7 separate regions of the Homo sapiens genome follow, and all the other regions are linked to region 6. The links are contacts of gene promoters, found by promoter capture Hi-C in blood cells and fetal thymus (Javierre and others, 2016). All regions are on one chromosome and are shown on one strand. Each heading gives the region's core, a stretch centred on a gene start or on the middle of the fragment in contact. The rest is flanking DNA. Distances are from core to core; before and after follow the strand shown.

Region 1 (3,825 bases), core at 565-3,064, 630 kb before region 6:
TGATTAAATTTACACTGAAAAAGAATGCTTTTCAGATATTCAGTAGTAAAGATAAATATTTTTCAGTAACAAGAAAGTTTTCTTTCCTAGTCTGCAGTTCAAAATGTTTTCCTTTTATCACATCAAAATAGCTATACTTCTGACTACTCTCCAGCTACTTTAGCAATATATATCATACTCCAAAAGAGTACTAGAAAAGACCTCCCTAAGACCTTCTCACACTAATGCTTTACAAATCAACCTCCCATTTCTTTTCAGCTCTGCCTTTGCACAGCAGAATTAAGATCTGGCAAAAAAAAACCTAAACAACTTCACTGGAATATATAGGTTCTTATGTGTCAGCAACAGTTTTCATAATACTGCAAAAGATAAGAAAATGGACAATTTCTCTGCAAGACTGAGAGTCATCTTTCTCTGCTACTTTTCGTGAGGGACATGTTTTCAGGAAACCTATTTTTGGGACTATTGCTGCACTTTGAATCTTTGACAGGTTCCGAAAGAAATTGGCTGGGCCTGAGTTTCCCAGAAACCGGAGCCTGAATCAAATCTCCTGTGCTAAGCCTTTCTTGGGAGGTACAATTCTAGAACTGCAAGAGTAGGAGGAAAAGAAGAGGAGACAGAGAAATAGGGGAAGTACATTTATAAGGACAAGGTACACTACCAGGTTGACTACAGTGCCCCAAGACAGCACAGACTGTGGCTGGGATTTGGGACATCATGCCACTAAACATTGTAGAGAGGAGGTATTTATCTACTGGTTCCATCCCATCTCCTGTCACTCATGGCTCAGAACTAACCTGACAGTGTGCCAACTACCCTACATCATGGGGTTGTGTCACCTGCCCCGGTAGCCCCTGGGAAAGACAGGTTCCTGGCCCTCTGTGCTTGTGTGAGTTCCTAAGTGATGGGAGGTGCCCATCTGTAAGTTCTGTCCATCTTACTTGCAGCAGCAGGAAAGCATTGGGAACCCAGGAAGACCCAAGTTAGCTGCTGGTGGTAGAAGAGGGAAAGGCGTCCAAGACAAAGCCTGTCCAGTAGCAAGCAAGAGAGGCTTGGGACAGGTGAGGCAAAGGGGATCCAGGAAGGAGACACACTGGGACTTGCAGAGAGGTCATTTTTACAAAGGAAAGTGGTGTTTTACTTATGCATTAGGGGGAAAGTCTTGTGTGGCCTGGGTCATTGAGCAGCACAAGTCCTGCACTGGGAACCATCCCAGACAGCCAGGAGCAGGAACAGAAGCAAAAGGAACTCTGGAGCAGCATAGCCCAAGTACAGACACTCCCTGAAGGCCAAAGTCACGTCGGCTTCCACTGTGGTTAAACTGTTCAAGTCAAATTCCACTTGCTTCTAGTCTCCAGCTGGCTTTCTCTCGTGGGATGAATACACACCCTTTGTAATAGCACAGGAGAGCATGTGCCAGTGCATCCCTAAGCTCAGGCTCTGTTCCCGTGACACCTTTCCCCTCTCCACGGAATGGTAGAAGGATGAAACATCTTAATATATGTGATGCGCCCAAGACGGTGTGTGCATGCTGTGGTGTTTGAGCAGTATTTGTTATTATTCTTACTGTGTAGAGGAACTGAAGCATATATAGCATATGTAAAGTACTATTGTGCTGTTTCTCAGATGAAGAAACTGAGGCATCAAGGTTTCACGTGACTTACCCATGGCCACCCAGCTCTAGAGTCCAGGCTTTGAACCATTTCCCTACACTAATTCTTAATGTGTGACATTTGGGGGAAAAAAAGCATTTAAAACAATGTGTTTTAAATGCTTGAATAACGTACTGCCTGAATAACGTACTGGTTGGTTTTGCTACTCCAGGTCCCCTAGGCCTGGGCCTGGTCTACATTTCCACACTGCTCTCCCATGCCGACTTTGCAAAACCTGGGTTTCCATCAAGCTCTCTGCCAGGACTTGTCACTCCCCAAGGTTCCCTTGGTCACCAACCACACTGGCTTTGCTAGGCCTGGCTTTATGTGGTACTCTTTTGAGGCATGATTCCTGCCTGTAGAATACCCATACATCTTTAAGACTTTGGTCATAATCCCAGCACTTGGGAGGCTGAGGTAGGAGGATCACTTGAGGCCAGGAGTTTGAGACTAGCCTGAGCAACATAGTGAGATCCTGCCTCTACAAAATGTTTTTTAATTAGCCTGGTGTGTTGGCATGCACCTGTAGTGCTAGCTGCTTGGGAGGCTGAGGCAGGAGGATTGCTTGAGCTCAGGAGGTCAAGGCTGCAGTGAGCTATGATCATGCCACTGCACTCCAGCCTGGGCAACAGAGCAAGACCCTGTACCAAACATTTTTTTTAATAAAAAAGAAAAACTTTGATTAAATTATACCCTCTTTCAGGAAGTACTTCTGCCTCTGCTTCAATGGAATGTGGGTCTCCTCTCCTTCAAGCCCCTCTTGGTACACAGTCTGGTCTTTCCAGTGACAGTTACCACACCGCGACAGTATTCGAGTTATGCTTTTAACCCACCATCCTCATCTTCCCATTAACCTCTAAGGGCCTGGCTTAGTTTCTGGCCCCTGCTAAGTAGTCAGTAAACATGTACCTTAAGTGAGGGAGTGAGTGAATGAGCGCCAAGTCTACAGCAGGCATGGGACATCACTCAACTGTTCAAGGGATGCCTGGCACCCAGCAGGTGCTCCATAAATGGAAGAATGAATGAATTCTAATCCCCATCCACCTCTGTTATTCTTTCTTGTAGATGTACATGCTCACTTGTTCATCTGAATTGAATAGGATCCTGGCAGCGTAACAAGATTTATTATGTATATGTAATTAATATGGACACGCACACACATACGCATGCACAGGCACAAGTATTTGGTTGATGATACTATTTTTCTGATGTATGTTGATTCTTTTTTGGGTTAATAATAATAGCTAACACTTGCTAATATATCAGGCACTTTCCTAATCAGTTAATAGGTACTAATTTTATCCTCAGAACAAGTTGAGATTGATACTATAATTATAAATGGTTGTCAAAAGGTGAAAGTGAGGCACACAGCAGACGAGAAAAGTAAGTTGCCCACAGCCACAGAGTTCCTGAGTGGCTGTGGGCAAGCTGGGATGTGGACACGGGCCTCTGTATCTGGGTCTTCAGCACTGGGCTCTACTGCCTGCAATTCCTGGTGACTGCCCGAGAGCTGGCTCTTTTATCATCCTGCCAGTATGCGGACTCACAAAATCCTCCACAGACCTACATGCACCGCCTGAGAGCAGCATCACACAGCAGCAGCTGAAAACACAATGGCACCTGAATCTTGAGCACTTCTGAAAGTTTCTCAGAAGACCAGAAATGCGGTCAAGCACCCAATTTCCGGACTTCTTAAGTGCATTTACCAAACGGAGAGCATTCACTTTAATCTCTTGCTGAAACAAACGACTCCAGAAGACAACTTTTGTCTCTGGAGTGACAAAAGTTGGTGGGCAACTCAACAAGGTAATTTTCTCTTGTCCATGTTACAATTAGGCCAAGGGAAGGTTATGAATGAGCCAGTGCTTGCCATAGCTGCTTTGCTGCAAATGCCACATTTGCAGTTTTTCTTTTCTGCAATATATGCTGGTGGCATGTTAGTCAACCCATGCTAATGAGAGAAGGAACGTGGCCAACCATCTGGTTGGCTCCCTCGGGTTTCAGATGAAGGAATGGACATTCAGAGAGGTGAAATGATCCCCTTGGTGAGTATGGGGTACAGAATGCACCAGAATTTCAGCTTCTGAGTTGCAGCTGTGTAGCTCTTTCCAGTAAACTATCCTGTGCATGACTTCACAGAAATGTTTAGATAAGCTTTACTTCGTTGATTTGA
Region 2 (3,766 bases), core at 653-3,152, 670 kb after region 6:
GAACTTTCCCCAGCCCTCCTGCTCCTTTCCTCCTCTGGTGACTAGGCACACACGCAGCCTCCATGGATCTCTGTTTCGTGGGTTCTCCTCCATTCTTTCTGCCTCCTTTCTTGACCTGCTGCCTCTTTTGGTCTTCTTATTGCATGGTCCCCAAAGCCTCTTTCCCTCATTTCCTGAATATTCTCTAATGGAATCCTGCCAAATCCCTGCCTTTCCCTGGATTTCACTCCTGAGCACCCAGCCAGAACTTTCCTGTTGGTTTAATCATCTGGATGTGCCAGAGTGCCACCAGCTCATATACCCTCCTCTCCATGAATCTACCTTGCATTGAATGGGCCACTCCGCAGCAATGCCAGCCTGTTTTCTCTCAGCAAACATGCCCTCTGCTCTTCTGTTTCCAGAGCCGAGCCATCTGTCCTTCAGATATGGAAGCCAGAAGATCACTTCCATCGGCACAATGTCCACTTTACTGCTGACCATAAGACGAGTGGTCTCTGTGTTTGCTAATCTGTGTTATCAAGCTGTTCATGCATAAGGACCTCCATGATGCTAGATTCCATCCATTTGCACACAGTTTACCACTCCATTACTAGTTATCACTGCAGAAAGAACTTGGTCCAGGTTCTATTCCATCTGGAGCATAATTTTGAAAGACCTTCATATTCCCAGACAATCAGTCCTGAGGAATGAACAAATACATGCCCTCTATGGCCTGAGATGGCCACTAATAAGGGTCAACCCCACATGGCTGGCGCCTAGCTACAAAAGAAGGTCACACTAATCAAGGCCAGGTAGTGGTCAGACAGGAGGAGCCCAGCCCTTCTTGGGGAAGGACATGCAGACCTCTGGAATTAGGTCAGAGTGAGAGAACTAGATTGTGGGTTGTTATACAACCACAAATAAAGAGGAACAATTCCCAACATGTCATAAATAGCAACTGAAAACAAATATGTCAACTTCGATTTCCTGGGAAATACTGTCCTTTTTATCTGCTGTTTATTGTGTGCTCCAAAACGCTCGCCTGAAGACATTTTTAAAGGGATTTTTTTTAGAGTACTCTAAACAATGTAAAACTGAATACATTCTATATTTTCAACCCCTATGCCAATCTTCAATTGGAAAAAGCTTTCAGGTTAATCAGCAGGAATGTTCCCAATTCAACAGGCGATTCAGTGACTGTTTATATGGGTTGCTTTTTATAGCACACGGCTTACTATGTACATGGGCAGTGGGAACAGTAGTCCATACCAGGGACAGAGCATCCTGTCGCTGGCACTGAGGAGCCTCCTCCAGGAGAGGAGAAGGGCTGCTTTCCCACCTATCTCTTCATGCCTTGGGGCAGGATGTGGGATTTGAGTTGCTTCTCCATTTATGGGGACAGGTCACACCAAACTTTGTGCACCCTCTTGCCCTGCCCTGTTTGTGATTGAGGCACTGACCGGAATCATGTCCTTCATCACACCCAAACCCTTGGCACTGGGGACCTAAGAGACCCTCTGAGCCCCCTCCTTTCATGTGTGCTGGGGGGTGGGGAGGCTGCTAAACTCATTCAGAATAGAGAGGCTGAAAACCTCTCAGAATGGCACTGTGAGATCAAGCATTTAATCCTACCTCCTTCGCCCACATAGAAATCATAGGTAACACAAAAAATAAGGTAAAAACAGGCACACATAGTTTCATGGATCAGAAATGGGTCAGAAACATAGAGGGAAGCTTGAGGCCTGAGACAGCAAGCTGCAGCCTCATAGCCTTCAGAAGTGGAAAGAGACAGAGGTGTGATCTCTTACACTCCTGAGAGACAACCACACTGAAAGCACGCTGTTTGTGTGGAGGATGAGAACTAGGTGTACTGCATAAGGCTGCTGAAGCTAGCGCTGGTGACACAGGCCATACCCGGGGAGCGGAGGGCACAGGCTGCTCAGCAGACACATGCATAGTGCCAGGACCTGGCCAAGCCACTGCTACCTCGAGAACTTGATCTCAGATATACTGAGTGTCACTCCAGGACAGGAAGCTCAGGCTGTCCATACAGGAACTGTGGCCTTTATGAAGCCATAGGGATAAGGTGATGAGAGCAATAATGAAGCTTCTAAAACATCTGGGGTGATTACAGAGAAAAAACTAAAATTTCTTCTTCAAGATGCATTTGCAAAATAAAATTCTGACCACACAGCAGAAACCAACACTAACCAGGCAGCAAATACAGCAGAGTATTCACTCAAGACTAGCAAAGTAGCCCAACACAGCTGTATATTACAGCTGTAATATAATTTTTTCATATCTTCTGAAAGACAAAAGAGGGATATAGCTGCATTGAAAAATATTATGAAGGAAAGCACAGGGAACATGTGTACCTAAAAAGTAATCAATTAGAAATGTTAGAAATGGCAAATATAGTCATTGAAATTTAAAAAACTCTTGAAAGACAGTATAAACATTATCTATCATTTTTCTCTTTAAAAGAAAGAATATTCAGGCCAGGTGTGGTGGCTCACTCCTGTAATCCCAGCACTTTGGGAGGCCGAGGTGGGTGGATCACGAGGTCAGGAGATCGAGACCATCCTGGCTAACATGGTGAAACCCCATCTCTACTAAAAATTCAAAATAATTAGCTGGGCATGGTGGTGGGTGCCTGTAGTCCCAGGTACTCAGAAGGCTGATGCAGGAGAATGGCATGAATCTGGGAGGCGGAGCTTATAGTGAGCCAAGATCGCACCACTGCACTCCAGCCTGGGCAACAGAGCGAGACTCCATCTGAGGGAAAGAAAGAAAGAAAGAAAGAAAGAAAGAAAGAAAGAAAGAAAGAAAGAAAGAAAGAGAGAGAGAGAGAGAAAGGAAGGGAGGGAGGGAGGGAGGGAAGGGAGGGAATATTCAGTAAATAAGAAGATAAACTAAATAATATCTGCCTACACAGCACAGAAAGAGAAAACAGTTGAAGATATAAACTCATGTTTGAAAAACTCACTGAGAATTTTTCAGACTGGAGGAAGAAATGAATAACAAGGTAAAGAAAAATTAGCCTAGTCATATTGGGGTAAAGCAAAAGGCTATTAAAGAAAAAAAAGTTTTTAAAACTACCAGAGAAAAAAGACCCACAAAGGACTGGCAATTAGCAGATTTGTCATTAGTGGCAATAGATACCAGAAGACAATAAAATCATTTCAGTCTTAAAATCACCACTTCCAATCTAGAATTCTGTATGTTGAATAGAAAGCATTAACCAGAGAAAAATCTGTTGAACAGGAGAAGGGAAAAATGCATCAGGATTAGAGAAGAGAAACTGAGAATTAAAATACATAAATTCAAGAGAATCTAATCTTGGAAAGGGAGAGAAAAAGCAAGGAGGGAAAATAGGCGAAACTGGAGAGTGCCTCTCATTCTTTTCATCACTATAGAGATGGTCCCCAACAGCATATAGCGTCTCATGAAGCTTTATTACATATTCACGCTCTTTTTGACCTTGTAACTTGACCCTGCACCTTACTATAAAAGCATTATAATAATAATATGTCCACATGAAAATGAACCAAACAATATTTGGGAATTAAGCAGCACTCTGGAGAAAGGTCTAATTTGGAAGACGTTCATATCGTAGACCCAGAAGGAGATCATAAGGAAATGATATAATGTATGTGGCAAAAGGGGTAATTAATTCTCAGTGCTTGCTCACCTGCTTCATGTTTAGACAGAAACTTCAGGGCTCAGGGACAGGAAAATTCAGCTGCTTCTCTCCTGGGGCTTTGTGGAGGATTCAGAGCAATGCAAG
Region 3 (4,155 bases), core at 725-3,224, 610 kb after region 6:
GTTGACAGTGGGGTGTTAAAGTCTCCCATTATTATTGTGTGGGAGTCTAAGTCTCTTTGTAGGTCTCTAAGGACTAGCTTTATGAATCTGGGTGCTCCTGTATTGGGTGCATATATATTTAGGATAGGTAGCTCTTCTTGTTGAATTGATCCCTTTACCATTATGTAATGGCCTTCTTTGTCTCTTTGATCTTCATTGGTTTAAAGTCCGTTTTATCAGAGACTAGGATTGCAACCCCTGCCTTTTTTTGTTTTCCATTTGCTTGGTAGATCTTCTTCCATCCCTTTATTTTGAGCCTATGTGTGTCTCTGCATGTCAGATGGATTTCCTGAATAAAGCACACTGATGGGTCTTGACTCTTTATCCAATTTACCAGTCTGTGCCTTTTAATTGGAGCATTTAGCCCATTTACATTTAAGGCCAATATTGTTATGTGTGAATTTGATCCTGTCATTATGATGTTAGCTGGTTATTTTGCTCGTTAGTTCATGCAGTTTCTTCCTAGCCTCAATGGTTTTTACAATTTGGTGTGGTTGTGCAGTGGCTGGTACCGGTTGTTCCTTTCCATGTTTAGTGCTTCCTTCAGGAGCTCTTTTAGGGCAGACCTGGTGGTGACAAAATCTCTCAGCATTTGCTTGTCTGTAAAGTATTTTATTTCTCCTTCACTTATGAAGCTTAGTTTGGCTGGATATGAAATTCTGGGTTGAAAATTCTTTTCTTTAAGAATGTTGAATATTGGCCCCCACTCTCTTCTGGCTTGTAGAGTTTCTGCTGAGAGATCAGCTGTTAGTCTGATGGGCTTCCCTTTGTGGGTAACCCAACCTTTCTCTCTGGCTGCCCTTAACATTTTTTCCTTCATTTCAACTTTGGTGAATCTGACAATTATGTGTCTTGGAGTTGCTCTTCTTGAGGAGTATCTTTGTGGCATTCTCTGTATTTCCTGAATTTGAATGTTGGCCTGCCTTGCTAGATTGGGGAAGTTCTCCTGGATAATATCCTGCAGAGTGTTTTCCAACTTGGTTCCATTCTCCCCGTCACTTTTAGGTACACCAATCAGACGTAGATTTGGTCTTTTCACATAGTCCCATATTTCTTGGAGTCTTTGTTCATTTCTTTTTATTCTTTTTTCTCTAAACTTCTCTTCTCCCTTCATGTCATTCATTTGATCTTCCATCACTGATACCCTTTCTTCCAGTTGATCGAATTGGCTACTGAGGCTTGTACATTCATCACATAGTTCTCGTGCCTTGGTTTTCAGCTCCATTAGGTCCTTTAAGGACTTCTCTGAATTGATTATTCTAATTAGCCATTCGTCTAATTTTTTTTCGAGGTTTTTAACTTCTTTGCCATGGGTTCAAACTTCCTCCTTTAACTCAGAGTAGTTTGATCATCTGAAGCCTTCTTCTCTCAACTAGTCAAAGTCATTCTCTGTCCAGCTTTATTCCATTGCTGGTGAGGAGCTGTGTTCCTTTGGAGGAGGAGAGGCGCTCTGATTTTTAGAGTTTCTATTTTTTCTGCTCTGTTTTTTCCCCATCTTTGTGGTTTTATCTACCTTTGGTCTTTGATGATGGTGATGTACAGATGGGGTTTTGGTGTGGATGTCCTTTCTGTTTGTTAGTTTTCCTTCTAACAGTCAGGACCCTCAGCTGCAGGTCTGTTGGAGTTTACTGGAGGTCCACTCCAGACCCTGTTTGCCTGGGTATCAGCAGCGGAGGCTGCAGGACAGTGGATATTAGTGAGCAGCAAATGTTGCTGCCTGATCATTCCTCTGGAAGTTTTGTCTCAGAGGAATACCTGGCCATGTGAGGTGTCAGTCTGCCCCTACTGGGGGCTGCCTCCCAGTTAGGCTACTCAGGGGTCAAGGACCCACTTGAGGAGGCAGTCTGTCCATTCTCAGATCTCCAGCTGTGTGCTGGGAGAACCACTACTCTCTTCAAAGCTGTCAGACAAGGACATTAAGTGTGCAGAGGATTCTGCTGCCTTTTGTTTGCCTATGCCCTGCCCCCAGAGGTGGAGTCTACAAAGGCAGGCAGGCCTCCTTGAGCTGCGGTGGGCTCCACCCATTTCCAGCTTCCTGGCCGCTTTGTTTACCTACTCAAGCCTTGGCAATTGTGGGTGCCCCTCCCCCAGCCTCGCTGTCTCCTTGCAGTTTGATCTCAGACTGCTGTGCTAGCAATGAGCGAGGCTCCGTGGGCATAGGACCCTCTGAGTCAGGTGCAGGATGTAATCTCCTGGTGTGCCGTTTGCTAAGACCGTTGGAAAAGCACAGTATTAGGGTGGGAGTGACCCAATTTTCCAGGTGCCATCTGTCACCCCTTTCTTTGACTAGGAAAGGGAATTCCTTGACCCCTTGTGCTTTCCGGGTGAGGGGATGCCTCGCCCTGCTTCAGCTCTCGCTCGGTGGGCTGCACCCACTGTCCTGCACCCACTTTCTGACACTCCCCAGTGAGATGAACCCAGTACTTCAGTTGGAAATGCAGAAATCACCCATCTTCTGCGTCACTCATGCTGGGAGCTGTAGACTGGAGCTGTTCCTATTTGGCCATCTTGGCTCCACCCCCCAGTACCACGCTTTTAAGGATTCATAGAATAACCAGAGTGAAGATGTAAAAGGAAACACAGGACTTAAATAATTCCAAGACCAGTTGAATCTAACAGAAATACACAGAACACTCCACGCTGTAATAGCAAAACAGACATTCTTTGCAAGTGCACATAAAATATTCTCCATAATTGACCACATGATAAGCAAAAACAACAAATTTTAAATGATGATAAATATTAAAAAGTATGTTTTCTGACCACAATGGCTCAAAATTTCATGGAATTTTAAAAGAAATTTTTAAAATGCTAAAATTCACAAGCAATCTAAAGGTACTCTGAAATAGCCAAAACAATCTTGAAAGGAACAAAGCTGAAGGCCCCACACTTTCTGATTTTAAAACTTATTACAAAGCTACAGTAATGAAAACAGTATGCTATTGCCATAAAGACAGAGCTATAAACAATGGAACAGAATACAGTCTAGAAACAACTCCTCATGTATATGATTAAACAATCTAACAATCTTTGACAAAAGTACCAAGACCACACATAGGAAAATTAACAGTTTATTCAACAAATTGTGTTGGGAAAACTAGGTATCCACATGCAAAAGAATAAAGCTGGATGTTTACCTTACAGATTTACAAAAATAAACACAAAATTAACTACAGAACTAAAATTAATACCTAAAAGTATAAAATTTCTAAATGAAAAAATGGGAGAAAGCTTCATGGCATTGGATTTGGCAGTGAGTTTTTTGATATAACCCCAAAAGAAGAGGCAAAAAAGTAAAAATAGACAAGTGGGACTGTAGAAAACTTTAACTTCCGCTCATCATAAGAAGCAATAAAGTGAAATGTCAACCTGTGGAGTATGAAAAAAGATTTTTGCATTAAGCAAGAGGTTTCAGCAATCCAAATGTCCATCAATGAATGAAGGGATAAACAAAATGTGGTATATACATCAAGCAGGATCAAAGGAAAGAAACAGAAAACTTGAATACAGGTCCTTTGAAAGTACTGCGTCAGAGGGATAAAAAGAAAAAAGAAAAGTGAAGGAACCTATGGCACTTATGGGACACCATCAGGCAGACCAATAGATGCATTATGGAAGTCCCAGAAAGAAGACAAGCTAAAGAAAAAAGAAACAATATTACTACTCACAAAAATGAATACTGCAAAAAGAACAAAGCTGGAGGCATCATGCTACTTGACTTCAAACTATACTACAAGGCTATAGTAACCAAAACAGCATAGTACTGGTACCAAAACAGATATATAGACCAATGGAACAGAACAGGGGCCTCAGAAATAACACCACACATCTTCAACCATTGGATCTTTGAGAAACCTGATCAAAACAAGCAATGGGGAGAGGATTCTCTATTTAATAAGTGGTGCTGGGGAAATTGGCTAGCCATATGCAGAAAATAGAAACTGGACCCCTTTCTTACACCTTATACAAAAATTAATTCAAGATGGATTAAAGACTTAAATGTAAAACCCAAAGCCATAAATAAACTAGAAGAAAACCTAGGCAATACCATTCAGGAAATAGGCATGGGCAAAGACTTTATAACTAAAACACCAAAAGCAAGTGCAACAAAAGCCA
Region 4 (4,339 bases), core at 1,705-4,204, 990 kb after region 6:
TCTGGCTGTGGTATCGCCAGAACACCAGTGAGTTTCCCATTTCTACATCCTGTCCTACACGGTGTTCTAAAAGCACTCTGAAAAAAAAAAAAAAAAAAAAAAAAAAAAAGCCTGATCCTCAGCATCGGATTTGCAAGGGGAGCTCCCTAGAAGCTCTAGGACTTACAGCATTGTGTGCTTGCAAATTTGGAAGGTTTTTTAGAAATTAAATGTGGACACATAAATTGCATCAACAGGCTGTGTGTGTGTGCATGCACACACCTCTTACGTGGCTTCTTTTGAAAGGGTTTTCAAGCATTCTTTCCAAATGTTAATGCTGCTATGTCCACTACGCCCAGGCCCCAGCATTCAGGTTTAAAAAATGGATTTCCACTGTTTTATTTGCTTATTTAGACAGGCTTTTTTGTTTCACACTCACACTATGCATGAGCGCCTCTTAAATATAAAAATTTAGTCCACCTCAATCTTTCCCTTTTTTTTTTTCAGGCCCCCAGGAAACAATGTTGCTGAGATCATCCAGGACTCAAATCAGGTAAGGGGTAAAAGGACTCTCAACTCTCCATCTAAAATACATCTAAACTTCATTAGGTGATAATATTTGAGGCTTCTTCCAAGAACTTCAAGCTAATCTTAGGTGTCATCAGAGAATGTGGACATCTTTGCTGAGATGTGAAATGTATGCAAGCCCTTAAACCCACAGTGGTTCCTGCCACATGGTACCACGCTGTTCACTAAGTCTGCGGCAGCCTCCCCTGTAAAGCTGGTGCCTGCTATCAGGTGCTGTGGCAGTTCAAGGAGAGGACCAGCCCTTGTGCACCATCACATCCTGATGCATTAACGCAGGTGGTAGTTCTGCCTTTTGATCTCAAGTCCAAGCAGGAAGGAGGCGTGAGGGCCATGCCTCTCAATGGCGGAGAATACTGAGTGTATTCTTTAGGGTCCACCAGAGAAACAGAACCAGTGGGTGTGTAAACACAGGGAAAGAAGAGCTGGGTCACATGAGTAGGAAGGCTGACACTTCCCCAGATCTGCTGTTTTCAAGGTGGAAATCCCTTCAAACTTCCAGACTGAAGTCTGGCAAGCTTGAGACTCAAGAAATTGATGTTCAGTTTGAGTCCGAAGACAGGGGAAGATCCACGTCTCAGATCATGCAGTCAGGTGGATATTCCCTCTTACTCAGCCATTTTGCTCTCTTTAGGATCTCTGTGAGCTGGATGAGGTCTCGTCCTTGGGGAGGCCCCCTGCTTTACTAAGTCCACCAATTCAAATGCCAGTGTCATCCAGAAACACCCTACGCACATGCCCAGAATAATGTTTGGCTAAATATCTGGGTACCCTGTGGCCCAGCCAAGTTGAAACACGAAATTAACCATCATACAAGGTATGTGAGAGGTCACGGGATGCCCCCAGATGCAATGCCCTGGGCAGGGCTGGGGGGTTCACTGGGCGTCTGAGTGGCAGCAGGATCTACAGGTGGTATACACTCTGCTAAGGGAGCAGCTTCACCTGTCAAAGCTCCTGGCCCCAGGCAGTTCCCAGGAGCTGCAGCCATACCGCCATGGTCACCTTACCCCGGCACAGCCACGTGCATTCAAACTTTCCAGACCATTCCCTCAAGACTGCCCTGGAGCTTGTGTGACCAGGTACTGCTCTGAGCTGTGTTTCCACCTGATGTAGCTGTGGTTCAAGGCAGTGTTGGCTCGTGGGGCTCAGCCACACCTTGGAGGTCAGAGGTCAGCTCCACCAGCCACCTGGCCACCTGCCATCCACATGCCAGGGTAGTTGTACCCCCGTAACCCACACGCTCAGCAGCCACTTCTCCAAATGTGCCAGTCTTAATGGAACACAAAACACTGATGGCCTGGATTGGGCTTGGGAGACTTCTCTGTGACTCTGCATAAATGTATTCCAGCCTCTTACAAGATTTGGAAGGCTTGAGGTTCAAAACATTTTCTCCCTAGTTCTTTCTCAGCACTAACTTTTCAGGGCCCTTCCCTACATTTCACCTGGACCCTGAGGAAGTCAGCACCCCAGGCCAAGTGAGGCTTCAACCTCCTGTCCAGTTGTGGAGCAGAATGTACCCCACAAAAGGGACATCCGTATCTGGAAGGTTCCGTGGCTTCCCCGGGCTTGAGAAGCTTCATCTCCAGTGGAGATGGTTGAGAGAGGTAGTGAGGGGCTTCTTTCAGGCTTTGTGTGCAGAGAAAGCCTCTCATCCACCAAGATGAACGTTCAGACGGGTTACACCATCTGCAGCAAGCCTGTTGCAAGAAAGCATCCGTCTGGCTCCTGCAGCGCACATAGCAGTCTGCATAGTGAGCCTGGGTGCAGGTGGGCATGGGGGCTGCGGTGCTGAGCCCAGCCTCCATTCCCCCCTACAGCTGGGCTCCTGGAGGTGGGGGCACCGTCCTCCCGCACAGCAGAGTCACAGGATGTGTGTTTGATTTCTACCCCCTGTTATCTGAAGGGTTTTATGTCTACTTTCTCTGTGGGTGTTTCTTCTCAGCATTAGAGACAAAAAGCAAAAGTAGCCACACCTCATGGCTGGAAAGAGACAGAGATTGTCAAGCCTGGCCCAGGGCTCCCCACCTGGGACTCCACAGGTTCCCCATCCCCGGCCCTCCTCCCCACCCCACCATCTCTTCTTCATTCTACCTTCTCCACCCCCATCCCCTCCTCCTCCCCACCCCAGCTCACCTCCCCTACCTCCCCCTCTCTTTGCTCCCAGCCCTCCTCCCTGGCCCCAATTCCCCTATCCCACCCTGCACCTGGAGAGGAAGGTGGCTCTGTGCCCACACCTCATACCTGGGGAGGGGATCCCTGGCTGTTGCCAGGCCAGCCTTGCCCGCACTCTGGAAAGGGGCAATCCAGCATGTTCTCTGCAGCTGCCTGGACATATCTGCTATCTGTGGTCCATTACCCTGGTGACAGGGCCACCCAGCTTCTGCAGTGACGGCCCCTGACTACCCTCCCACATGAAGCCCTCTTCCCCTGCCAGGGCTGCAGCTCCCTCGAAGCCTAGAACTGTCCATCCCCATGTCTGTACTTCCAGCCCCCAGACCTGAAACCAACCTTGAAGTTCCTCCCCTGCTCAGCTCCTCCTCACTGCTGGCCACCATCCCAGGGGCACCAGCCACTTTCTTGAGGCCAAACCCCTGTGCTGCCACCCCTAACTTCACCTTTTGCTGCTGAGAGGTGCCTCCCCAAAAAAAGGAATGGTCAGGCTCCAGGACAAATTTCCTGGAAGATGGACAAACAAGGGCTCTTTGAAATGTTTTAGGTGGCAGTCCATCCAGATGAAAAACAAACTCAATCTCCAAACTTCACTGAGCCCCTCTGATGAGGCCCAGTGCCAGAAGGGAGCAAAAGTGTGTTCAAGACCACACCTATGAAGTGCGGGGCAGCACCAGGCTCCGGATTCCTGCATCCAGACATCTCTGTTACTTTCTAACAAAGCAACAGGTCTCCATAGGATTCAAACTCAGGTCTGCAGCTACAGCAAGCAGGGAACCCCTCATTTGGCAGGAGATGCTCAATGTGACTGAATGGATGAACTTCCTTCTCTGGATCACCCAGGGATGGCCCCATGCATTTGTGGATTTAGCTTCCAGACTCCTGCTGTCCTGCCCTCATGCATGGCTGATGATTTGAGCTACTGATTAACACTTTTTAAAGTCAAATTTCTCGGCACATGTCAGGGTGGGAAATTCTATCTGTCCTCCATATGCCGGGCATCATTCCACAGCAGCTGGTTGGGAAGGAAAGCTTAATCTCTCGGAACCTGCATAATATCTTTATAAAGGTACAGCTGGGCGAATGTCATAAAAATGTTCAGTTGTGGGTGCTGGGATATCAGATGCCTTGCGTGCCTCTTCACTGCCAGGACACACTCCAGGAAAACCCCTGGTGTGCTTGAGGCCACATGACACACAGAGAATGCAGGCAGCAACGCTTTGCCTTGGAAAGCTGAAGCATTTTCTATCTTAATCCCGGAAAAAAAAATTAAAAAACAACTGCCTTGAGAATGTGATGGATACTGCCCCTACACCTGGGTGTTTAGCCGAGATTTATTTAGAGTTTAGGAAAAGTCACTTGAATGATGAGGGCTTTTGTTCATCCCTTCATTTCTCTGAGTGACTATGGAACTCATATATCTGTGTTTTCCCACTAGGGTTGTCTATCCCTGCCATTTGTTTTTTCTTTGTTATTTCTACAGAGGCAGGGCTGACTCTTGCCTTAAACACTTTTGACGAATATCCCTGGAGCTAAAACCAGGGGCGCAAAAGCCACACCCAGGAACCAAGCTCCTGCTGCCTGCTTGGGTAACCATCAAGTTCAT
Region 5 (3,730 bases), core at 200-2,699, 650 kb after region 6:
GAAAAAAATCTGGTTTAAAAATGGGCCAAAGACCTTAACAGACACCTCAACAAAGAAGAGATACAGATGGTACATAAGCATATGAAAAGATGTTTCACATCATATGTCACTGTGAAAATGCTGATTAAAACAATGAGATACCACTATACACATATTAAAATAGCTAAAATCCAGAACAGTGACAGAAAATGATAATGAGGATGTGCAACAACAAGAATTCTCATTGCTGGTGGGAAGGCAAGACAGTATAGCCACTTTGAAAGATAGTCTGGCAGTTTCTTACAAAACTATATACACACTTACCATAAAATCCAACAATCATGCTCCTCGAGATTTTACCAAATGATCTGAAAACTTACATCGACACAAAAACCTTCACACAAATGTTTATGGAAGCTTTACTCAGAATTACCAAAACTTGGAAACAACAAGATGTCCTTCAGCAGATGAATAGATAAGTAACCTGTGGTATATCTAGACAATGGAATATTATTCAGCACTGAAAATAAATAAGCTATCAAGCAATAAAAATACACTGCAAAATCTTAAATACATATTAACAAATGAAACAATCCAATCTGAAAAGGCTACATGCTGTATGATTTTAACCGTATGGCATTCTGGAAAAGGCAGAACTACAGAGACTATAAAAAGATCAGTGCTTGCTGGGGTTGTGGGGAAGGAGGGATGAATCAGCAGAGCACAGGGGATTTTTAGGGCAGTGGAACTACTCTGCCTCTTAATGGTGAATAAATGTAATTATACATGTGCCAAAACTCAAATATACAATACCAACAGTGAACTCGAATGTAAACTATGGATTTCAGGTGATAACGATGTGTCACTCACTGTAGTTTAACCCATAGTAACAAATATTCCACTCTTGGTGCAGGATATTGATAGTGATAGTGAGGGTGCAGGATATTGATAGTGGGATATTGATACAAATATGTGGGGAGGGGTACATGTGAAATCTCTGTATCTTTTGCTCAATTTTGCTGTGAACCTAATCTGCTCTAAAAATAAAGTCTATTTTAAAAATATATATGGAGAAACCTTAAAAACATATGCTAAGTGAACAAAAGCCCACATAAAAAGACAATACACTGTATAATTCCAACTATATGACATTCTGGAAAAGGCAAAACTATGAGGACAGTTAAAAAAAAAAAAAGTTCAGCGTTTGCCAGAGGCTTGTGAGAGATATAAATAGTGAAGCACAGGGAATGTTTAGGGCACTGAAACTGTTCTATCTGATACTGCAACGATGCACACATGTCACTGCACATTTGTCAAAGTGTATAGAACACACAACACAATGAGCAAACCCTAAAGTCATCTATTTACACTATTTAATAATAATATATCAATATTAACCCATCAATTATTTTTAAAAGTACCACCCTAATACAAAATGTAAATAATAGAGAAAACTGAGTGTGTGGGGGGGATTAGGAACTTTCTAGACATTCTACTGATTTTTCTATAAACTTAAAACTTCTCAAAAAATTAAAGTCTTTTAAAATTATCTATAAAAATAAAAATAAGAATAGAAAGAAGCAGATAAGCATGACAGATAATGAAGAGAAAAATCAACCAATCAAAACTGATGCAGGTATTAGAATTAGTAGACAAGGACATTGAAACACTTATTATAAATGGATTGTATACATTCAAAATGTTACAAACATGAAAGACACAAGAACCACCCAATCAAACTTCTACAGATGAAAGCAGCATTGTGTAATGAAATTGTACTGAATTAGGCTAATGTGGATTAGATGTTGCAGAAGATTGACAGGTGAACTTGAAGAAATGAAAACAGAAATCAGTCCAGGCATGGTGACTCATGCCTGTAATCCCAACCCTTTGGGAGGCCAAGGTGGGTGGCTGACCTGAGGTCAGGAGTTCAAGACCAGCCTGGTCAACGTGGTGAAATCCCGTCTCTACTAAAAATACAAACTTAGATGGGCACAGTGGCACGTGAGAGGCTGACGTGGGAGAATCACTAGAACCTGGGACGTGGAGGTTGCAGTGAGCAGAGATCGTGCCACTGCCACTGCACTCCAGCCTGAGTGACAACAGGGAAACTCCATTTCCAAAAAAAGAAAGAAGAAAGAAAGAAAGAAAGGAAGGAAGGAAGGAAGGAAGGAAGGAAGGAAGGAAGGAATCATACAAAATAAAACACAAAATGAAAGAAAAAAATAAAAAATGTATAAAGCATCTATCAGCTATAGGAGTGTCAACTAGCCTAGTATACATGTAATCAGATCCCACGAATGACAGAATAAAGTGCAGAAAGAGACAAAAATATTGTTTAAAAAATCCCTTAAAATCTTATATATATATGATAAAAACTAAAATTCCACAGAAGCAAACAAACTTCAAAAACAAGATATGAAGAAAACAATAGGAGTTTCAGTTCTTTGACACCTTTTTTGAGAGGCCAGAAGACCATTTCCCAAGGAAGGGACTCAGATAAAACAAAAGTTTCAAGCTTTAAGATCAGGGAGTCAATTTCTATGATAAAACAAACAAACAAAAACTATCTATGGGGCTATTAGGTTGAGTTTCAAAATCATGGCAAGACAGGCATGTCCACATTCACAACTTCTATTTAACATTATACTTGAGGTATACTTGAGGTTTCAGCCAGTGTAGTAAGATAAGAAAAATAAATAAAATGCATTTATATTGGAAAGAAAAACATAAAACTATCATCATTCACAGAAGCATGATTATCTATGTTAGAAAAGGTAATGAAATATACAATTCTACAAAAGTAATAAGTGATTTAACAAGATTCAGGATACAAGATACAAAAATCAATTGTCTGGAAATACAAAGAACCTAGACCATCCAAAACAACCTGAGAAAAGAATAAAGACAGAGGAATCACAATATAGAATTCAAAGAATTATTATAAAACTGCAGTAACCAAGACAGTGTGGTTTCAGCAAAAACATGAATACTCTTTTCAGAAAATCATGTTGGAATAATTTTATATTCATACACAGGAAAGAAAAATTGGCCTATAATTTGCTCCATAAAAAAAGAACTCAAAATTGTTAATAGACCAAAATTGTTAATAGACCAAAACTGTAAACCTAAAACTATAGAACATTTTAGAAAAAAAAATAGGAGAAAACCTGTGACTTTGGCTTAGACAAAGATTTCTTAAATACGACACCAAAAATAACATCCATAAAAGAACAACTTGATAAATTAGTTTTCACCACAATTAAAACTGTCTGTTCTTCAAAGGATACTCTTACAGATACTGTCAAGAGAATGAAATGACAGGCCATAGACTAAGAGAATACATTTTCAAAACATATATACAGTAAAGAAGTTTACTCAGTAAATATAAAAAAACTCTCAAACTCGATACTAAAAAATAAATAACCTAATTTTTTTAATGGGCAGAAGATTTAAACAGATACTTCACCAAAAAAGATGCATGTTTTGCAACCAAGCAAATGAAATATCATTAGTCATAGGAAAAATCAAATTAAAACCACAATGAGAGGGTAGTATGCACCTAATACAATGGCTCAAAGTAAAAGCACGGACCACACCACATATTGGAAGAGGTAAAGGAGCTGGAACTCTCCTGCTGGTAGAAATGTGAAATAGTATAACTGCCATCAGAAACTTTCTGTTGATTTATGAAAAGGTTAAATGTTTCACATTGTTAAAAAGATTCTACATGTAAGTGAGATGTAATGTT
Region 6 (3,950 bases), core at 1,310-3,809:
CTGCAGCTGTAAAGGGTGACAGTAACCCCTCCTGTAAGTAACTTCTGCTCTGTTTCTCTAAAATGGTAGACTGTCAGAAACTATGCTGTTTGAAATTATATTACAAAGATGAGACATCCACTCTTACTTGAAGTACCTCTATTTTGATCGGTATGATTGAAAATTCAGTAAAATCTTGCTATTTAAGACTCCCTAAAGAGAGAGGAACTGCCCTTCTAATTACTGGAAAGTGTGAAGTATTGAACAACATAAATGCACTTTCCTTTTAAAAGCAAACCGTAGTTCAGTGGAGTCTAATACAGACTCAGTCCCTCAGCTGCAGCTCTAAAAAGCTCTGAAAAACAACACTTTTTTTTTTTTTGGTAAGTCTTAGAGAAGCTCTCGTAGTGATAACACCTGCTCTAAACAGACACACAGCTCTTTATAGTCTTTATTTATTCCACTTAGTGAGAATATTCATGTTCTTAAATGTAAAAGTACAGAAATATTAATGCATGGAATTACAGGATTCTCTCCAGACTATATTGGAATGGCATGTAACCAGCAGGGTCAACATGTATGTTTACCTTTCTAAATTCTGAGCAATGTCTTTCTCAGTTCTGAAATTTAGATTCTAAATTTTAATTCCAAATTCTGAAAAAGCTTGAATTCCAAAATACGTCTTGGCACAAGCATATTGGATTATAACCATGGGCAAACAATGTGCTAAATAAGTGAAGTTCTACTAAGAAGTCTTCCATTAAAAAAAAGCAGAGAGATTAGACCTGCATTTAGAATATTAAATAGGGGCCTAACAAAGATCAGGGTGATTCATTTCTAAAGTGAAATCTAGCAATAAAATAACGTTTCTACCAATTTCATCTCTCAGGAAAGATAAAGACCTAAAGTATACACCCCATTTTTATCCTAGCTTAAAACTTTCTAGTTATTAAGACTATTATAAAATCCTATTTTATATTTCACTTCAAATACAGAGGCTTAAAAAAAAATCTTCCCACAATCCCTCAGTAGAAAAATCTCTTTTTTCCTAGTGTTCAAATCCAACCTTTTCAAATCCAAGGTAGAAGAGTAAGAGGATAAGACACAAATCAAGTAATTTGATTATAATCTCTCATTCAAATACACTTTAAAGTGCACTTCAAATACAGGGGATAATACAAATCAATTTCTGTTTTAATGCAAGAGTTTTCTAAATACGTTAAAACAAAAGTGCCGTTCAGAACAAAAATGATTTGATAAAATAATTTCAACTGACAAAGATTTCTCACTTAAAACACTTAATAATTTACATGTATTTAAGCCTTTTTGAGAAAATATAATTCTATCTATGCACTGCTCGGACTTTCACTGGGGAGAAGGAGGACATCAATGTATTTAGTTGCATTTAATTAAAATGCTGCCTGTGTGAAGGCAATGAATTTGTCCCTACTAAGACAAAGAAGTCAGATGGTAGAATCAATTCCATTTCTTCCAGGAACTCTTAGGGATTAAATGGTTCCTTTTTTTATTTTTAATACCAAGAATCAGATATGGCACAACATCTTCAACTCTTTTTTTTTTTTACTACACGCTGCAATGCTTTGAACTCTACTTGAGTTCGACTGAATCTTTGCTAAGTCAGGCAAAACTCAAAAAATATTTTGCAACACTGTTTCCAACGTAAAAAAAGATTCAAACTCTCACTTCTCCAATTGTCTTTCTAGTCCTTGAACATTCCAACAAAAGAATGGATTGCATTTATATAGTTTTTAGGTGGGCTTAAGGTTTTGGAGCCACATTGCCAAAAACAGACAAACAGACAAAAAGAAACACCCTTAACTCTTAACTCAAATTTACATTTTACTACATAAAACTTTCTTGCTCTCCAAGTTCATTGGCTAAGTAAATTACTTGACAATGAAAATGTATCCACAAGAGTAATTATGCTAAATTTTAGTAGTGGTTCAGAAGGGTTGTTGTTTGAATGCAACTGCTGTTTCTTTTTGTAGTAAAAGATTTGTCTAAGCTCATAAGACGTCTGGACATTTCTACTTTGAGTAACTTTGATAAACACTGCGGCATTTTCCAGTGGATTCGTGTAAATGGCCAAAGGAAAATGTTCTAGCTCCAAGATCGACTTCCTCGCGCTGTGCCTGATCCCAATCCCGCGTCTCCCGAGGGCCGGGCCGCGACCGCACTTTCCGCGCTCCCTGGGGGCCTGGGCGCCCTGGGGTGCCCGGGTCACTTTCCGCACGGTCTGACCTCCGTCCCCTCCGCCCAGGCCTGAGCCCCTCTCTCCCGGCGCAGCTTCTGGATCCCGAGCGCGGGTAGGTTCAGGAGCGAAGCTGGCGGAACCCACCTGTATTTTATTCACATGGTTTCAGCACTTTTACCTCGGCCGATGAAGGTAGAACAAGAAAGGGCATGAAAGCAGCGCGTCGTTCCCCGTAACCTCCTCTCCTTACCAGAAAGTCCCGGCCGGGTAGGGGACGCGGCCACACCTACCTGCGCCAGGTGAGGCGAGGGCGGGCGCAGCGCGGGGCCACCCGCTCCTCCTCGCTCTCCAGCCGCCGCCGGGGTGGCCTCAGCCGCCGGGCCCGCGGCTCTTCCTCATTTTGGGCAACTTCCTTAACGCGCCCGGGCAGGCGGCCCGCACTTCCTCCCAGTGTCGCGCCCCGCCGCCCTGGCCCGCCCTGCTGACCGCGCCCATGAGCCCGGAGCTGGGCGGGAATCGGCTGAAGCGCCGGGCGAGGCCCGCGGAATCGGCCCAGGCGGCGGCAGGTGTAGAGGAGCCCGGGTGGGGCGCGCCTCTCTCCTCCCGCCGGACAAGGGCCCTTCGCAGGCAGAGAAGGTGGGGCTGCCCGGGACATGGACCGCATCGGTCCCCCTCCTCCCCGCCAGCGCGGTGGCTTCTGTGACTGCCCAGGACCCACAGACACCCAGCGGCCCTTTCCTTTTGCTATGCAGTGCCGGGGAAGAGACTCCACTGCATGGCATATTCCCTGGAGTGTATCTTGGTCACCAAACCAACAAGCTCCAAGCTACTGTGCTGGAGCACTCGGGAGGCCTGGGCAGTGCTGAGAGGGACCCTGTAGGTGAACACCAGACTTCACGGCGCACTAGTGGGCAATGGGGCACGCTGCTTCTGAAGGCTTTAATTATTACAAAAGGCTTTGCTTCCTTCTTACCATGACGGCTCTGACGTCCACAACCAAATAAATTAAACCTATAGCCCTAAGAATGGTTTTGAGATACCCGCCTGATACCCTTCTCCCAACCCATCCCCCTTTTCCTTTTGGACATTCCTCTTTAAAATGTTCCCACAAAACGGCATCCAGACCTTCTTGATAACACTGGTTGGCAGTGCCTGTTTTAAAAAGCTTTACCCTAAGCCAAAATGCGAGAAGCAAAAAAATATATATATAATGTGCTGGATTGTAATTGCCATGGAGAAAATATAGGGATGGGACTATTTACACTTATTGGAGCCCCCAGCCTTTTCTGCTTCCAGGGTTATTGGATTTTCATTCATTTTTGCCATTATTTTTTCTAAACCTGTTAAAAGAAAACTTCAGCAGAATTAAATTTAAAGCAGTTTAATTGAGTAATGAATGATTTGCGAATGGGGCAGCTTCCAGAATCACAGCGGATTCAGAGACTCCAGGGATGCCTCATGGTCAGAACATATTTATAGACAAAAAAAGGGAAGTGACATACAGAAATTGGAGGTAAGGCAGAGAAACAACTGGATTGGTTACAGGTTGGCTTTTGCCTTCTTTGAACACAGTTTGAACACTCAGCAGTGTATGAATGGTTGAAGTATGGCCACTGGGATTGGCCAAGACTCAGCTATTGTTAAAGGCACATACTCCTAAATTAGGTTTTCAATCTTGTCTGCCTATTAAGCTAGGTTACAGTTCATCCACAAGGACTCAAATATAGAATACAGAGTCCTTCTCAGATCATACTTA
Region 7 (3,935 bases), core at 945-3,444, 630 kb after region 6:
CATTACTGCCACGCACAAAAGTTCTGCAATGACTAACTCACCCATGCCCATGGAGTTAAGGATTGATGTTTTACTGCCTTACACTTAAATAAAAACCAACAAATAAGAGTCACCAGAACTTGAGGAGAACCTTTAACAAAACCTCTAACAAAAAATATGGAAATGAAGACAAACAGAAAAAACATAGAAAACTCAGAAGAGAGATATTGTAGGGAGCCAAAGAAATCTTCAAATTAACAATAATTCTACTCCTAAGCAAGGCAAAATAAGATAATGTGTCCTTGGAAAAAGAAAGATGAAGACATGGGTTTTGGGAACCAGGATCCAATGTAGGAGAGCGGAAAAGGGAATTCCCAGGATGAAACTGGGATGTCCAGGATTGAATCTGTGCAGTAGGCCTGTGACATCAGAGAAGGGAACAGGGGCTTTTGAAGAAATGTCTCCAAGGGGGAAAAGTAATCTGACAGCTTAATTAATATGTTTGACTTTATTTGAAGGAGCTTTTCAGTTTAATCAAAGGGTTTAGGAACGATATACACATTGGGATTCATAGACTCTTAAGTGTTTCTATTATCTACAGTTGTGTAACAAACCCCAAAGCTCAGTGGTTTAAAATCATAACTTATTGTTACCTCTCAAGCTTCTGTGGGTTGACAGGGCTTGACAGGGCTCAGCAGGGCTCACTTGAGGGCCTCTCCTGTGATTATAGGCAGATATTGCTGAGGCTGGAGTCACCTGAAAGGTCAATGGCTGAAGATACCAAATGATTCACTCACATGTCTGTGCCTGGGTGCTTCCTGGAACAGCCAGAGAATGGCCAGTCTTCCGTTTCTGTTCACACAACCTCTCCACATGCTGACTTGGGCTTCCTCACAGCATGGCTGCCAGGCATCTCTTTCTGTGCACACAGTCTCTGGACATGGTAACTTAGGCTACCTTCCACTACAGCTATGGGTGGGAGGGTAGTCTCAAGGTAGTCATAATCCATCACAGCAGCTTCCTCCAGTGTATTCAAGGCACCTGCAAAGTGCCTTGTGATGTAGCCTCAGAAGGCCCGGAAGGTCACCTCCACTACACTCTTTGGTCAAAATCTAGCTCTGATTCAAGAGGCAGACTACACAAAGGCAAGAAAACTGAAAGGTGTAGTTCATTGGAGGCCATATTTGTAAACAAGCTCCAGTATTAACTGAATAATCAAATAATACAATTACCCCAAAAAATATAATGTTAATGTGAAAGAATATGTACATATGATTGCATAGATTAGGACAATTTTTACAGGAACTAAGTAAACACTAAATATTGATTTAACTTAAAAAAATGCTGTGGTTATACTGACAGAATGGGGTTAAGGATGGCATCTGTGAGGGAAGGGAGGTGGAGTGCAGCATAGAGGACCCAGAGAGGATGATGCCAGGGAGACCAGCAGGGCCCAGAATTGAGGGGGCCCATTCTCAGGTTCACACAGGGGCAGGGCGAGCACCGAGTGACCCCTTCTTCCATTCTGCTCCAACACCGTAACTGCCTTGTATTAGTCCCTGCCTAAGCAGTGAGAGGAGTTTATTTCTGATTTTCACCTTCCATGTAAGAAATCAGTAGGCCATAATAAAATTTAAAAATTAAGGAATATGGGTACAGGGTTTCAGTTTTAGAAGATGAAAATGTCCTAGAGATGGAGGGTGGTGATGGCTGCACAACATGTGAATGTACTTAATGACAATAGGCTGTCCACTTGAAAATGGTTAAAGTGACCAATTTTATAGTATGCATATTTCACTCTCTATATAAGTAGCATCTTATCTAGCATTAAGTAAAATATTAATATATTTAAATTCATCTATTTGAATATTTTTAATGGTTTTAAAAGCTTCCAACAGAAATAAAGATACCATGGGGAGAGGAAAATCCAGGAATATCTAATAAGGTATGTTATCTAAGTAAAAAAAAAAAAAAGGTAAATAGCTAAAATGGTTGAAAATTGCCTTCTCTAGAAAGAGAGAATCAGTAGTATGGCAAGAGATTACTGTTTCTTGTTCCAACATTTGTGGCACTGTTTAAGAATTTAAGCCATTTTCATGTATTACTTTGATAAAAACAAGAACTTACAATGAAAGTTAAAACTAAATCATTTGAATAGTAGGATAAATCATCCTGGTTTCTATACTTTATCTCTAGGAAAAACAAATGACCTGGATAATCTAGAAAGGGTTAATTTAAACTTTTGACTCCATTATCTCTGCTATTTACTTTCACTTACGTGGATGCTATTTCAAGGGCCTACTCCAGAACAATGACCTTCACTCTCTGGAAGACACACCTTGGTAGATGTATAATAATTTACAGAAACAAGCAAGTTGAAGAGCACAGTACACGATTCATAAGAGCAATGGGCAGCACTTAGAAAAATAAATAAATCCTTCATGGTAAAATAAGATGCTTTTCCTCATGAATTTCAAGTTTTTTTTTTAATGACAGTTATAGTGGATATATGCATTTTACTAAGAAAAAAAGATAAAGCTTCATAAACTTGCTGAAGGAGATACCAATTATTGTGATCAGTCGTATGCCATGAATCAATCCCTAAATATCATAAATCCACTCAATAAAATGGAAGTTTACCCGAATCTAGTTGGATTTTACAACATTTGCATGGCTTGGTGAATTATACCTGAAAGAATTGTGGAGGGTTTTATTACTAACAATGTTTCTAAGTGTCACACTAGGGAAGAGCACATTCTTTCTAGAGTTGATTTACCTCATAAAAGTCTATTATCTGGGAAGAGGATTGTCAATCACAAGTTGCACTTTATTAATTACTAAGTCAAACTGAAACTTTATTCACTTAATGTGGTCACAAAAACATATTCCTACCTGAAATTGAAAGGATTTAAACACAATATAGCATCCAAATATATACATTTTATAACAGTCTATTAATATTTATCATTGTCAAAAGAACATATTTCCAGGGAGACATATAAACAAACGGTACTAAACTAAGTTATATTTGCCTGGCTTGAGTATCTGTATAATCTATTCACAAGCCTGTGTAAATTTTCAATTCCAAGGGCTATATGGTTTTCATTAATAAAGGGAAATTATACTCTTTTTTACAAAAATTTTAACTAGTAAATCTCAGTACTATTCTTCCCCTGATTAAAATGGGGCAAACACATTCCAGTCTGTCTCTCCCACTGAATACAATATTGACAATAGCAAAGAGGTGGAAGCAACTCAAATGTCCATCCAGGGATGAATGCACTGCAAATGTGGTTATTAAGCATGCAACGGAATGGTATTTAAAAAGAAGAAAATCCTATTAACTTTCTCCAAAATGAATGAACCTGGAGGACATTATACTAAGGAAAATGTACCAATCACATAAAGGCAAATAATATGTGATTCTACTTATACGGAGTATCTAAAATAGTCACATTTCTAGAGACAGAAAGTGGAATGGTCATTTCCAGAGGATAGAGAGAGGGATGAATGGGGAGTTGGTGTTGAATGGGTACAGAGCCTTAGATTTGCAGGTGAAAAATTCTGGAGATTGTTGCATACTTATGTAAAGATACTTAATACTGCTGAACTATACACTTTATTATGTATGGTTAAGATGGTAAATTGAATGTAATGTGTTTTTAACTAAAATAAATAAGTAGTAAAGGGTAGCTGGCAGATTGAGAAAGTAGACCAAAATTCCAAGTACCACAAAGCTGGTGGAGAGTTTCCCATTTTTTCTCTAATATTGCCCAGCCTAAACTCAAGGGATCCTTAAGCTCAGAAGTGGGAGCTAGAGCATGGAAACAACGAGCTCCAGGAAATGCACAGCAGAGTGGTATAATTGACACTCCAGTTTCTGGCTAGGGTGCAAGAGGACTGCTGCAAAACCAGAAATTACCAGGGAGATTGTGGAGAGGAAGTAGCATGAGAAA

The links. Contacts are between HindIII fragments. The CHiCAGO score rates a contact against its expected background, and 5 or more counts as called.
Region 1: a fragment that was not itself captured here is called in contact with the fragment with the promoter of SYK in region 6 in 1 of 17 cell types (neutrophils); the score reaches 6.0 in neutrophils.
Region 2: a contact is called between a fragment that was not itself captured here and the fragment with the promoter of SYK in region 6, in 1 of 17 cell types (total B cells). The highest score is 5.4, in total B cells.
Region 3: a contact is called between a fragment that was not itself captured here and the fragment with the promoter of SYK in region 6, in 1 of 17 cell types (naive B cells). The highest score is 5.3, in naive B cells.
Region 4: a contact is called between a fragment that was not itself captured here and the fragment with the promoter of SYK in region 6, in 1 of 17 cell types (fetal thymus). The highest score is 6.2, in fetal thymus.
Region 5: a contact is called between a fragment that was not itself captured here and the fragment with the promoter of SYK in region 6, in 5 of 17 cell types (total B cells, naive B cells, monocytes and 2 more). The highest score is 7.1, in total B cells.
Region 7: a fragment that was not itself captured here is called in contact with the fragment with the promoter of SYK in region 6 in 1 of 17 cell types (total B cells); the score reaches 6.2 in total B cells.

What each region holds. Positions count from the first base shown.
Region 1 is chr9:91,429,139-91,432,963 of GRCh38, reverse strand. It overlaps a transcript of NFIL3 not described here. Among named protein-coding and RNA genes, the nearest start is that of NFIL3, 7.2 kb to the right of the region's middle. The HindIII fragment of the contact is 3,988 bases long and covers 1-3,808 here.
Region 2 is chr9:90,126,268-90,130,033 of GRCh38, reverse strand. No RefSeq gene overlaps it. Among named protein-coding and RNA genes, the nearest start is that of MIR4290HG, 87 kb to the right of the region's middle. The HindIII fragment of the contact is 373 bases long and covers 1,716-2,088 here.
Region 3 is chr9:90,190,596-90,194,750 of GRCh38, reverse strand. No RefSeq gene overlaps it. Among named protein-coding and RNA genes, the nearest start is that of MIR4290HG, 150 kb to the right of the region's middle. The HindIII fragment of the contact is 2,596 bases long and covers 677-3,272 here.
Region 4 is chr9:89,810,113-89,814,451 of GRCh38, reverse strand. No RefSeq gene overlaps it. Among named protein-coding and RNA genes, the nearest start is that of LINC03062, 170 kb to the right of the region's middle. The HindIII fragment of the contact is 1,627 bases long and covers 2,141-3,767 here.
Region 5 is chr9:90,144,593-90,148,322 of GRCh38, reverse strand. No RefSeq gene overlaps it. Among named protein-coding and RNA genes, the nearest start is that of MIR4290HG, 100 kb to the right of the region's middle. The HindIII fragment of the contact is 2,101 bases long and covers 399-2,499 here.
Region 6 is chr9:90,800,428-90,804,377 of GRCh38, reverse strand. SYK (spleen associated tyrosine kinase) reads right to left here and starts at 2,559. Exons shown (of 14, transcript NM_003177.7): 1 at 2,485-2,559. RefSeq lists silencers at 2,421-2,580, 2,601-2,810. The HindIII fragment of the contact is 2,717 bases long and covers 645-3,361 here.
Region 7 is chr9:90,168,029-90,171,963 of GRCh38, reverse strand. No RefSeq gene overlaps it. Among named protein-coding and RNA genes, the nearest start is that of MIR4290HG, 130 kb to the right of the region's middle. The HindIII fragment of the contact is 650 bases long and covers 1,870-2,519 here.